4 separate regions of the Homo sapiens genome follow, and regions 1, 2 and 4 are each linked to region 3. The links are contacts of gene promoters, found by promoter capture Hi-C in blood cells and fetal thymus (Javierre and others, 2016). All regions are on one chromosome and are shown on one strand. Each heading gives the region's core, a stretch centred on a gene start or on the middle of the fragment in contact. The rest is flanking DNA. Distances are from core to core; before and after follow the strand shown.

Region 1 (2,739 bases), core at 196-2,695, 920 kb after region 3:
AACACTGGCAGTGGTAATAATATATTGATGGTTATATTTTAATGATAGTAATTGAAACTGATAATAGTGTTTGGGATTATTCTGTATATGTTACCAGTTGAGTTACAAATGATATTTCTAGTAAAATCTATTGGATCCTTAGTGGCTTTGATCTGATATGCTAAAAGCCTGGGTCAGCATAACAGTGTGACGTATACACCCTTAACTTTAAGAAATCCTATCATGTAAAAATAAATGTTTGACTGTCACTAACATAATGTGACTCATAAAGTGTACGTGATTCTGGTTTGAAAGCTCCGTCCTCTGTGTGTTTGCATGTAGCTTTTTGTTTAAAGTTCTATTTGTATAACCTTAAGGAAATAAGGTTTATTATGCTTTAAAATGAATGAAGCTAAAATTTAAAAGATTCCAAATCACACTAAAACAGTCTTTCTAAACTATTTTTTCTCTTAATTTTTTAAGAACATAAAAAAACTCCTGAAAATTCCCTACAGCAAGTCGCACGTGAGCATGGCAGTACACCGCATAGGAAGGACTCTCTTACTAGATGAGCTAGATATTCAAGAACTCTTTATGAGATCGTCTCAGGTAATGCTTTTGTGAAAAAATCCAACAAAACATTAACAGCTTAAGAGCACTAGAAATACGATTTTGTTTCAGAGAATGGCCAAAGTGGAAATGTAGTTGAGTACTTCAACAATCGAGAAATTGAAAGTTTCACTGAAGATAGAAAAGCTTGAATGAAGAAAAAAGAAGAGAATGAGAATGGTGAAGAAAATTATTTTATTGATTCCAACAGCCAGATTCTTTTTTACAAGAAAAAAGATGAAGCCAATGAAGAAAGTTGTGAAAAAAACTGTGAAATTTAAGGGACTAGTTTAATATTTTTAAGAATCCTTTAACGTCTCCCTTAAACAGATTCTCAGGAAACACAGCTACTGGAAAATGTGAAAAATATTAGAAGCTGTTCCTATGAATAAATACAGTCATGTTCCCATAATGACGTTTCAGTCAGCGATGGACTGCATATACCGGTGGTCCCATAAGATTATAATATACTGTATTTTTACTGTATTTGCAGTGTTCAGATACACAAATACTTCAGTCACATGTACAGATTTGTAGCCTGGGAGCAATAGGCTATACCGTATGACCTAGGTAGGGAGTAGGCTGTACCATCCAGGTTTCTATAAGTAACACTCTGCGATGTTCACACCAGGACAAAATCACCTAATGACGCGCTTCTCAGAATATATCCCCATTGTTAAATGACACATGGCTGTAGTTATTAGAATTAATTGATGCTCTTTAGCCTAGATTCTCAAATTGTATGTTGGTAAGGACTGTTTTTCCCACATGTTGAGAATGGATACTTTTGAAAAACATAATAACATTGTTGCAGTTTCTCAAGAACTACCCTCCATATCTGTACTTTTCTTGGGCTGGCAAGAAATAGTTCATGGTCAGTCTTTAAAGAATATTACTACAGTGCTTTGATAAAGAAAATTAAATTATGGTGAGGTAAATGACATTTAAAATAAGTGCTTTTTTCCTTTGAAAAGACCACCGTTTAGTTCATCATGTGAGTATGAGCCTAGGCACGGGGATGTGACAGTGAACAAATCACAGGCCTTGCTCCTCAGCAGTTCATTGTTTGGGGTTATAAACACATACACAGATCATTTCAATATAGTGTGCAAAGTGGGAACTACTGCAGCTGCTAAGGAACATGTTATAGAGAAGACTCACCTCTCCCAGCCTGGCTTAGGAGGAGGAAGACGGGTTTCCTTTAGGAAACAAAAAACAAAAGAAAGGTGGTATGAATTGACCCAGAAAGATATGTTTTTAATGAGTATGTGTTTATGAAACTATTCAAAAAATAATAGGAGCCTTTTCTGTAAGCTAGTACTAGGTAACATTGTTTCGACTATGTGTGTTGTATTAATAATATGTATCTCATGTTATCCAGACTGGTGACTGGACATGGTTGAAAGAGTTTTATCAAAGACTCATTGATCAGAAGTGGCAGAGGAAGAAAAAGAGCAAAGAGCACTGGTATCAAAAGGCAATTCTTTCCAAGTTTTTATATTACAGGTACTTGGCTACTTATTTATCTCTAAAGAGAAAAAGGGAATTCTGATCTAAAATTTAGTGTGAAGCTTAATGAAGTTATAATTTAAGTTTTGCCCCTGTGATACTGTTAACATTTGTTTCATATTTCTTTTTTACAAGATGTATGCTTAATTACAGATTGTAGTTTTTATAAACGGGTAGACTGTTGCATGAAGTTAACTTTAGTAACAGCAATCCTTTTTTATTTCTGGTTTGGCCAGTATCAATGGTGATGGAGCCGCTCAGCCTGTCTCATCCACCGCAGAACAGCAGGAATCGTCCAGTTCAGATCAGACAAATGATTCGGAAGGGGCTTCATGGCCTGCTCCCTTCGAAATGCCTTCTTCAGTTTCTGAAGATCCCAGTGCTTCCAGTCAGGTTAGTACTTAAATGCTAATTCTAGAAACTCACATAGGAAAACAAAGCCTTTTTTAACATCTCGTTAAAAAAAAAAAAAGATGAACAGGACTAAGAAATATTCTGTCAGCTTATGGAATGGGGGAAAAAAGACTTCTGTCAATTTATGGAATTGGAGAAATACTTTTTAGTTTTTCGCAATAGAATTTACAAGAGCTATTATAGGTGGGGAGATCAGATTTTTTTATTAAATCGAAATATAATAGTTGA
Region 2 (2,798 bases), core at 181-2,680, 790 kb before region 3:
CCTTCCCTAGGTGTTCTCTCCACACCCAGTGCAGGCCAGCTGGCTGCATCCCCAAGCTCCAGGACGCTCAGAGCAGAGCTGAATTCTTGAGAAACTGGGGTCTCCAATGGCCTCGGATAGAGGAGCTCTGTGAGGGGTCCATTGCTGAGCTCTCGAACATCACGAAGGAAATTCCAAAATGGTTATAATTCATGTGTGCCTAGAGTGGCAGAGTCCTGGGGTTTTCCATACCATGAGTGAAACAGTTCCCCGCAAAGAGATTTGTAAAATCCTGATGATGACGGCATTGGCGGGCCCAGCACGTGCAGCAACAATTCAGCTCTCACGTCGTCTTCCACGCAAACGCCTCATCCGCGAGGACCTGCGCCAGCCTAGCGTTGAAGGGCCTGTAGAAATCCCGCAGAATCTTCTGTGTGATGGGCCACATGGGCCCCAGGTTCCGGTCCTCGGGACGCCGTGCATTGGATGCGGGGCTCTTGGTCATCAAAGCCTCCTGCTTCTCACTTAAGGGCCCTAGAATAAAAGAAGACGAGTCCCGTAAGGCAGGAGGCATGGCAGGAAGTAAAAGGGACTTTGCAAAAATCCCAGCTATGCTTCGTATTCAGACAGGAGTTTCCTTTAAGAGAACATATTTAGGGATTAAAATTCTTTGGCTGGATCCATTTTGGAAGCACTGAGGGAGGAAGGTGGAAACACCATCAGGAAATTGCGAAGAAATTCTGCGGCGGGTGCAGGATGCCCACCCTCGGGGGAGCCCAGCTGGCATTTAATGATGATACAGCGTCTAAGGCTGACCTCAAGGATTCCCTTCCAATTGCCCTTGGTGGGCTGCTCTCCATGGGTGTCAGCCCGTCCTTGGAGGAACGTGCGGCCTGCCGAGCACAGCCCACGGGTTTCGGTTTTCCTGCTCAGCAGCCCTCTGGAATTCCGCCATCATCGTTTCTACTTCAGGCTGCTCATGCCAAGGTCCCTGGGCCTGCACAGTTTCACCCTGTGCGTCTTGCTGTGAAGTGGCCATAGGGAGGAGGGCTGGGAGGAGGCCACTTGTGCCCAGAGCCCCCACTGGCTGAACCTCCATCTGCAGCAAGGAGATCAGGGAGAAGAGGCCTGCCGGCAAGGGCTGTCAGTCACCCCCACGCCCCGCCCTCTGGAGTGAGGCGAGGCCCTGGAACAGGCTGGCAGAGGTTGTCAGTCACCGCCACGCCCCGCCCTCTGGAGTGAGGAGAGGCCCTGGAAAAGGCCGGGAGGGGCTGTCAGTCACGCACACGCCCCGCCCTCTGGAGTGAGAGGCCCTGAAACAGAACAGCAAGGGCTGCGACCCCAACGCCCCGCCCTCTGGGCCACAGCTTCTTGGTGTAACCCATCACTGCTCAAGCCTCTTTACCGGGGGCTCTTGGGATCTGGCCAAAGTCCTTAGCCCATAGACAGAAAAAGCATGTCCCAGCATCCTAGGGCCATATGAAACACAGAATTGGCCTTACTATCCATCTTGGGGACAAAAGACAAGCTCATTAATGGGACAGAGTCAACATGTGGTCAAATCAAAGAAAGATGATTCTAAGCCTTGGAAGGGAAAGAACTCATCAAACTCCAAAAAAAGGAGAAACAAAATCAAATGATCAAAGAGGCCCAAGTCCCAGTGGCAGGCAGATATATTTTCAGAAATACTCAATTAACCAAGTTCCCGGGCAAGACCATTAGTCAGGGCTGCAGGAGGCGTTCTGGGAAGGAGGGCGGCTTGTTCGAGCCTGCTCAGCCTTTCAAGCCATCCCTCGGTGCCCCGTCCACATGGGCAGCACTCGCTCCGCCAGCACATGCCTCTGCCAGCCATCACCATAGTCAGCAGTGTGGCCTGTCACCACAAAGTGACTCTCAGGCCCCTGGGGGGGCTGGTATCCACAGGCTGAGGGCAGGCGCTCATGCCCCAGGGGCCCAGCATCCATGATCAGCAGCCAAAACTCAGCCACACGGCTCTGACTCCTGGAATTTCCAAGAATACCGGAGATGATGCAATGATCTGTCTGTTCCCTCCTCTAAGCCCCAAGTCCTCTGCTCCAGCCCCCCGGTGACATCCTGTTGGTCCTACAAAGCTCAGCTCTCAGGCCCTTTCCTTCCATGAAGCCTTCCTCATCCGTGCAGTAGCTGGGATCCCAAACCATCAGCACATACCTTACATGACAGTGCTGACCTTCCCCACGGCATCCTACCTGTCATTCAGTTAGGTGAGCTATGGCTTCCTCCTCTCCCTTCACTAGACCATAAGCTCCCAGAAGGGAAACCATCTCCTTCTCTCCAGAGAATCCCTCACCATACTGTGCACAATGACCTATGTACAGCTAGTGCTCAATAAATGGTACTTAACAGGCCTCCTGAAGGACATCCCCAGGCCTCCCAGCTCAGCCCATTCCCACCCAGCTGACCAGGTCTGCATTTGCCCCAGAGGACTCCCAGAACAAGTCCACGGAGCTCATGCTTTGGCCCGTCAGTCTAAGCACCACACTCATACCTAGGTTCAGAAACTGGAAGACCTTGTGCATGGTGTACTTGACGTTGGATGCATGATCTTCCAGGCGAAGAATGAGAAACTGTTGCTTGTCAAAAACGCTGAGCCAGTCCAGAAGGTACACAGCATAGAGCCCAACCTGGAGCCTCACCTAGGACCACAGAAGAAGGGCATTATTTCAGGAGCAGTTGCCCCAACACCATAGGGCACTTTTCCAAAGTGGTATGGCATTTCACTGTACCACAAAAGAGTTATCCTAGCAAAGTTACTTTCAGAAGCTGGATTTTAACACAAG
Region 3 (2,940 bases), core at 226-2,725:
CTAGTTTTTGTATTTTCAATAGAGATGGGCAGAGGGGAGTGGGCAGGGTCTCACCATGTTGGCCAGGCTGGTCTTGAACTCCTTGTCAGGCCTCTGAGCCCAAGCTAAGCCATCATATCCCCTGTGGCCTGCACGTATACATCCAGATGGCCTGAAGTAACTGAAGAATCACAAAAGAAGTGAAAATGACCGGTTCCTGCCTTAACTGATGACATTACCTTGTGAAATTCCTTCTCCTGGCTTAGAAGCTCCCCGACTGAGCACCTTGTAACCCCCGCCCCTTCCCACCAGAGAACAACCCCCTTTGACTGTAATTTTCCACTACCTACCCAAATCCTATAAATCGGCCCCACCCCTATCTCCCTTGCTGACTCTCTTTTCGGACTCAGCCCGCCTGCACCCAGTTGAAATAAACAGCCTTGTTGCTCACACAAAGCCTGTTTGGTGGTCTCTTCACACAAACGCGCATAACACTCCTGACCTCAGGTTAACACTCCCCACACACGCCCCCCCCTCCCAAAGTGCTGGGATTACAGGCATGAGCCACCGCGCCCGGCCTCAAATGTTGGCTTTTTGTTTTGTTTTGTTTTTGAGACGGAGTCTTGGTCTGTCACCCAGGCTGGAGTGCAGTGGCGCGATCTCGGCTCACTGCAAGCTCCGCCTTCCAGGTTCACGCCATTCTCCTGCCTCAGCCTCCTGAGTAGCTGGGACTACAGGAGCCCGCCACCACGTCCGGCTAATTTTTTGTATTTTTAGTAGAGACGGGGTTTCACCGTGTAAGCCAGGATGGTCTCAAACTCCTGACCTCGTGATCCGCCCACCTCGGCCTCCCAAAGTGCTGGGATTACAGGCGCGAGCCACCACGCTCAGCCTAAATGTTGGCCTTTTTTTTTTTTTTTTTTTTTTTTTTTTGAGACGAAGCTTCGCTCTTGCTGCCCAGGCTGGAGTGCAATGGCACGATCTCGACTCACCGCAACCTCCGCCTCCCGGGTTCAAGCCATTCCCCTCCCTCAGCCTCCCGAGTAGCTGAGATTACAGGCATGTGCCACCACGCCCGGCTAGTTTTTGTATTTTCAATATAGACAGGGTTTCTCCATGTTGGTCAGGCTGGTCTCGAACTCCTGACCTCAGGTGATCCGCCCGCCTCGGCCTCCCAAAGTGCTGGGATTACAGGCGTGAGCCACTGCGCCCGGCTAGAATGTTGTCTTTTAATACTAAGGTTTCACTTGCAAAGGGAAAGAACTGTTTGCGGAACTATCAACCGCTGTCTGAGGCGTGTCGGGAGCGACACCCCTGCGGAGGATACGGTGCCGGGGTCCTTCCGATCGCAAAAACCGGCGTTCCTCAGCCTTCAAGACTGTGAGCGCTCAGGGCCCTCGGCCGCTGCCCGCCGCAGACTCCACTTCCCATGATGCCAAGGGGTCGGGCCGTCCGGAAGGCCGTGTGCCCTCCGCGGGGCATGATGGGGTAGCTGGAGATTTCCATCATGGCGGCGTCCATTTCGGGCTACACCTTCAGTGCTGTGTGTTTCCACAGCGCCAACAGCAACGCGGACCACGTAGGTGCCGGGCCCCCTGCCGCGCCCGCTGGGGGCTTTCAGCCTCTGTCTCAGGCCGGCGCTCGCGGCCAAGCCGGGACCTCATGCGGCTCGCCCCCTGGGCACCAGGGCCGGCCGGAGGAGCTGGTGACCCGGGCGGCTCCCGCCCCCGGTGAGCTCTTGCCTCTGGGGGCTCCTTCGCCCCTGGGACAGGCCCCCTGGCTTCGCGCTCTCAGCCGCTCGGCCGTCCCGGCACAGCCGTCTCCCGTGCAGCAAAACTGTCCCACCTGGCCTCCTGCAGTGTCAGGAGTCGCTCGGTGGAAACCGAGCGCCTGCCCCTCCCTGAAAGTCAGGCTTCTAGACTTAAGAGGGGCGCACGGGGTCGGGAAGGAATCTAAAGGCCGGGCGTTTAGTCCAGTAGGCGAGGTACTCAGCCCCGCCCGCCGGTCTCGCAGGTTGTCGTGGGGGTGCTGCGAGTGAAACCGTGGCTGTCACTACTGATACTTGTTAGACACGGTTGTGTGTTTTCTTCGCCCTGATGCAAAATGGAGAATGTATACAGGAGCGTTCGGTGCAGGGTCTATTTTGTATTTCCTTGAAGTTGCGTGTTTAGTTCTTTGTGACTAGTTCTTTCACTAGTCACAGTGAAATAGGGAAGTGACAGGCCCACTACTGAGTGATGGGAAATGCATAGGCTGTGAGCCCACAGGAGGAGCAGATCCTGTCTGTTTCAGTGTCTTTATTTTACAAATTGTCTTTTAACGTCATTGGCCTCTGATTGGAAATGCTTTGTGAAACTAGATCACTTCTCTCTTAAAGGAGGTATATAATTTGGCCACCAAATTGGGGGATTATTTTAAGTGATGTTAATAGTGAATGATTCAAACTCATTAAACCTATGTGTGGGGTTTTTGGTTGTCATTACAAAGCAAAATGGTACACTGCAGAAGGAGGAACTGCATTTGGTTTGATGTCAGCAATCTTAGCTTCCATTAATAAAAACTGATTTCACAGGGAGGTGATTCCATTAGTAAATTGAATGCAATTAAATTATTGTACCTTTCATCTCTTCAGTGTTGATGGTAGAACTTAATGATAGGAATAGGAATATATACATCATGGGTTTTTCCAGAAGCAGCTTTGAAGACTATGGCCTAGGGTACTACAACCAGCTATTTAATAATGTAATATAGTTCCATATGTAAGGGTTTGTGATACCCCTAGTGTCCATGGACTATTAAAAATGGGTCCTTTATTTCTTGAATGCCTACTAATATCACAGTTTATGTATATGGCAAGATTACTGTAAGAACAAGCAGCTACCTGTTGAAAAAAATTAATTCAAGAGATATCCCTTAATATCTACTCTGCAAGGCGTGGTGCTTGACTTCATAGAAATTTTC
Region 4 (2,735 bases), core at 13-2,512, 820 kb before region 3:
TAGCAAACCAAATCCAAAGCCCATCAAAAAGCCAATCCATAACAATCAAGTAGGCTTTCCCTGGCATACAAAGTTGGGTCAACACACACAAATCAATAGATGTATTCATCACATAAACTGAACTAAAGGCAAAAACCACACGGTAATCTCAATAAATGCAGAAAAGGCTTTTAATAAAATTCAGCATCCCTTCCTGTTAAACACCCTCAACAAAGTAGGCATTGAAGGAACATGTTTCAAAATAATAAGAGCCATTTTCGACAAACCCACAGCCAACATCATACTGAATGGGCAAAAGCTGGAAGCATTCCCTTTGAGAACCAGAACAAGGCAAAGATGCCCACTCTTACCACTCCTTTTCAACATAGTACAAGAAGTCCTAGCCAGAGCAGTCAGGAAAGAGAAAGAAATAAAAAGCATCCATGGAGGAAGTCAAACTTTCTGTTGGCAGACAATATGATTTTATACCTAGAAAACCCCAGCCTCTGCCCAAAAGCTCCTAGACCTGATAAACAACTTTAGCCAAGTTTCCAGATACAAAACCAATGTACAAAAATTGGCAGCATTTCTGTACATCAATATCATCCAAGTTGAGTGCCAAATCAAGAACACAATCCCATTCACAATAGCCACAAAAGGAATGAAATACCTAGGAATACAGCTAACCAGGTAGGTGAAAGATCTCTACAACCAGAATTACAAAACCTACTGAAAGAAATCAAAGATGACACAAACAAATGAAAAAACATTCCATGTCCATGGATAGGAAGAATCAATATTGTTAAAATGGCAATATTGCCCAAAATAATTTACAGATTTAATGCTATTCCTATCAAACTACCAATGACATTCTTCACAGACTTAGTCAAAACTATTCTAAAACTTATATGGAACGAAAGAAAGAGCCCAAATAGACAACACAATCCTAAGCAAAAAGAACAAAGCTGGAAACATCACATTACCCTACTTCAAACTATACTACAAGTCTACAGTAACCACCACAGCATGTACAAAATAGACACATAGACTGATGGAACACAATAGAGAGCCCAGAAATAAAGCCTTAGAGCTACAGCCATCTGATCTTGGACAAAATCAGCAACAACAAAAAAGCAATGGGGAAAGGACTCTTTGTTCCACAAATGGTGCTGGGATAAGTGGTTATCCATATGCAGAAGATTGAAACTGGACCCCTTTTTTACACCATATACAAAAATCAACTCAAAATTAAAAATGTAAATGTAAAACCTAAAACTATAAAAAGCCTTGAAGAAAACCTAGGAAATACCACTGTAGAGATAGGCCCTGACAAAGATTTTATGACAAAAATGCCAAAAGCAATTGCAACAAAAATTGAAATGGACAAATAGGACCTAATTCAACTAAAGAGCTTCTGCACAGCAAAAGAAACTGTAAAACCGAGTAAATAGACAACCCACAGAATGGGAGAAAATATTTACAAACTATGCATCTGACAAAGGTCTAATATCCAGACACTATAAGGAACTTAAAAGAACTAACAAGCAAAAAACAAGCAACCCGATTAAAAAGTTGGCAAAGGACATGAACAGACGCTTTTCAAAAGAAGACATATATGTAATCAACAAGCATACAAAAAAATATTCAACATCACTAATCATTAGAGACATGCTAATCAAAACCACAATGAAATGACCATCTCAAACCAGTCAGAATGGCTATTACTAAAAAATCAAAAAATAACAGATGCTGGCAAGGCTGTAGAGAAAAGAGAAAACTTATACACTGCTAATGAGAATGCAAATTAGTTCAACCACTGTAGTAGAAAAGCAGTTCGGTGATTTCTCAAAGAACTTAAAACAGAACTACCATTTGACCCAGCCATCCCATTATTGGGTTTATACTCAAAGGAATATAAATCACTCTACTATAAAGACACATGCAAACATGTGTTCATTGCAGCACTATTCACAATAGCAAAGACAAGAAATCAACCTAAATGCCCATCAATTGTAGACTGAATAAAGAAAATGTGGTACGTATACACCATGGAATACTACACAGCCATTAAAAAGAACAAGATCTGTTCTTTGCAGGAACATGGATGGAGCTGGAGGCAATTATCCTAGGCACATTAATGCAGGAACAAAACACCAAACATCATGTATTCTCACTTGTAAGTGGAAGCTAAACATTGAGTATACATGGACACAAAGAAGTGAACAATAGACACTGGGGGCCGATTGGAGGGTGAGGAATGAGAGAAGGGTGAGGACCAAAAAAACTACCTATCAGGTACTATGCCTATTACCTGGGTGATGAAGTAATATGTACGCCAAATCCCCACAACATGCAATTTATCCCTAGAATCAACCTGCACATATACCTCTGAAACTAAAATAAAAGTTGAAAAAAAAAAAAAAGAAGCCGGGTGCAGTGGCTCATGCCTGTAATCCCAGCACTTTGGGAGGCTGAGGAGGGCGGATCACGAGTTCAGGAGATTGAGACCATCCTGGCTTACATGGTGAAACCCTGTCTCTACTAAAAAAATACAAAAAAATTAGCTGGGCCTGGTGGCAAGCACCTGTAGTCCCAGCTACTTGGGAGACTGAGGCAGGAGAATGGTGTGAACCTGGGAGGTGGAAGTTTGCAGTGAGCTGAGATTGCGCCACTGCGCTTCAGCCTGGGCATCACAGCGAGACTCCATCTCAAAAAAAAAAAAAAAAAAAAAAAAAAAGAAAAAGAAAATCTGAAAA

What was found. Contacts are between HindIII fragments. The CHiCAGO score rates a contact against its expected background, and 5 or more counts as called.
Region 1: a contact is called between a fragment that was not itself captured here and the fragment with the promoter of ABRAXAS2 in region 3, in 2 of 17 cell types (monocytes and neutrophils). The highest score is 6.5, in monocytes.
Region 2: a contact is called between a fragment that was not itself captured here and the fragment with the promoter of ABRAXAS2 in region 3, in 1 of 17 cell types (naive B cells). The highest score is 5.1, in naive B cells.
Region 4: a fragment that was not itself captured here is called in contact with the fragment with the promoter of ABRAXAS2 in region 3 in 1 of 17 cell types (naive B cells); the score reaches 8.7 in naive B cells.

The regions. Positions count from the first base shown.
Region 1 is chr10:125,723,349-125,726,087 of GRCh38, forward strand. It overlaps EDRF1 (erythroid differentiation regulatory factor 1), which reads left to right. Exons shown (of 25, transcript NM_001202438.2): 4 at 463-588; 5 at 1,970-2,094; 6 at 2,334-2,490. Among named protein-coding and RNA genes, the nearest start is that of EDRF1, 5.0 kb to the left of the region's middle. The HindIII fragment of the contact is 1,424 bases long and covers 734-2,157 here.
Region 2 is chr10:124,009,827-124,012,624 of GRCh38, forward strand. CHST15 (carbohydrate sulfotransferase 15) reads right to left here. Exons shown (of 8, transcript NM_001270764.2): 7 at 2,507-2,654; 8 at 1-513. The coding sequence ends at 323. Among named protein-coding and RNA genes, the nearest start is that of CHST15, 82 kb to the right of the region's middle. The HindIII fragment of the contact is 4,917 bases long and covers 1-2,798 here.
Region 3 is chr10:124,800,344-124,803,283 of GRCh38, forward strand. ABRAXAS2 (abraxas 2, BRISC complex subunit) reads left to right here and starts at 1,476. Exons shown (of 9, transcript NM_032182.4): 1 at 1,476-1,558. The coding sequence starts at 1,487. RefSeq lists enhancers at 1,075-1,629, 1,302-1,571, 1,630-2,183 and a silencer at 1,672-1,751. The HindIII fragment of the contact is 5,454 bases long and covers 920-2,940 here.
Region 4 is chr10:123,981,751-123,984,485 of GRCh38, forward strand. No RefSeq gene overlaps it. Among named protein-coding and RNA genes, the nearest start is that of CPXM2, 91 kb to the left of the region's middle. The HindIII fragment of the contact is 4,167 bases long and covers 1-2,735 here.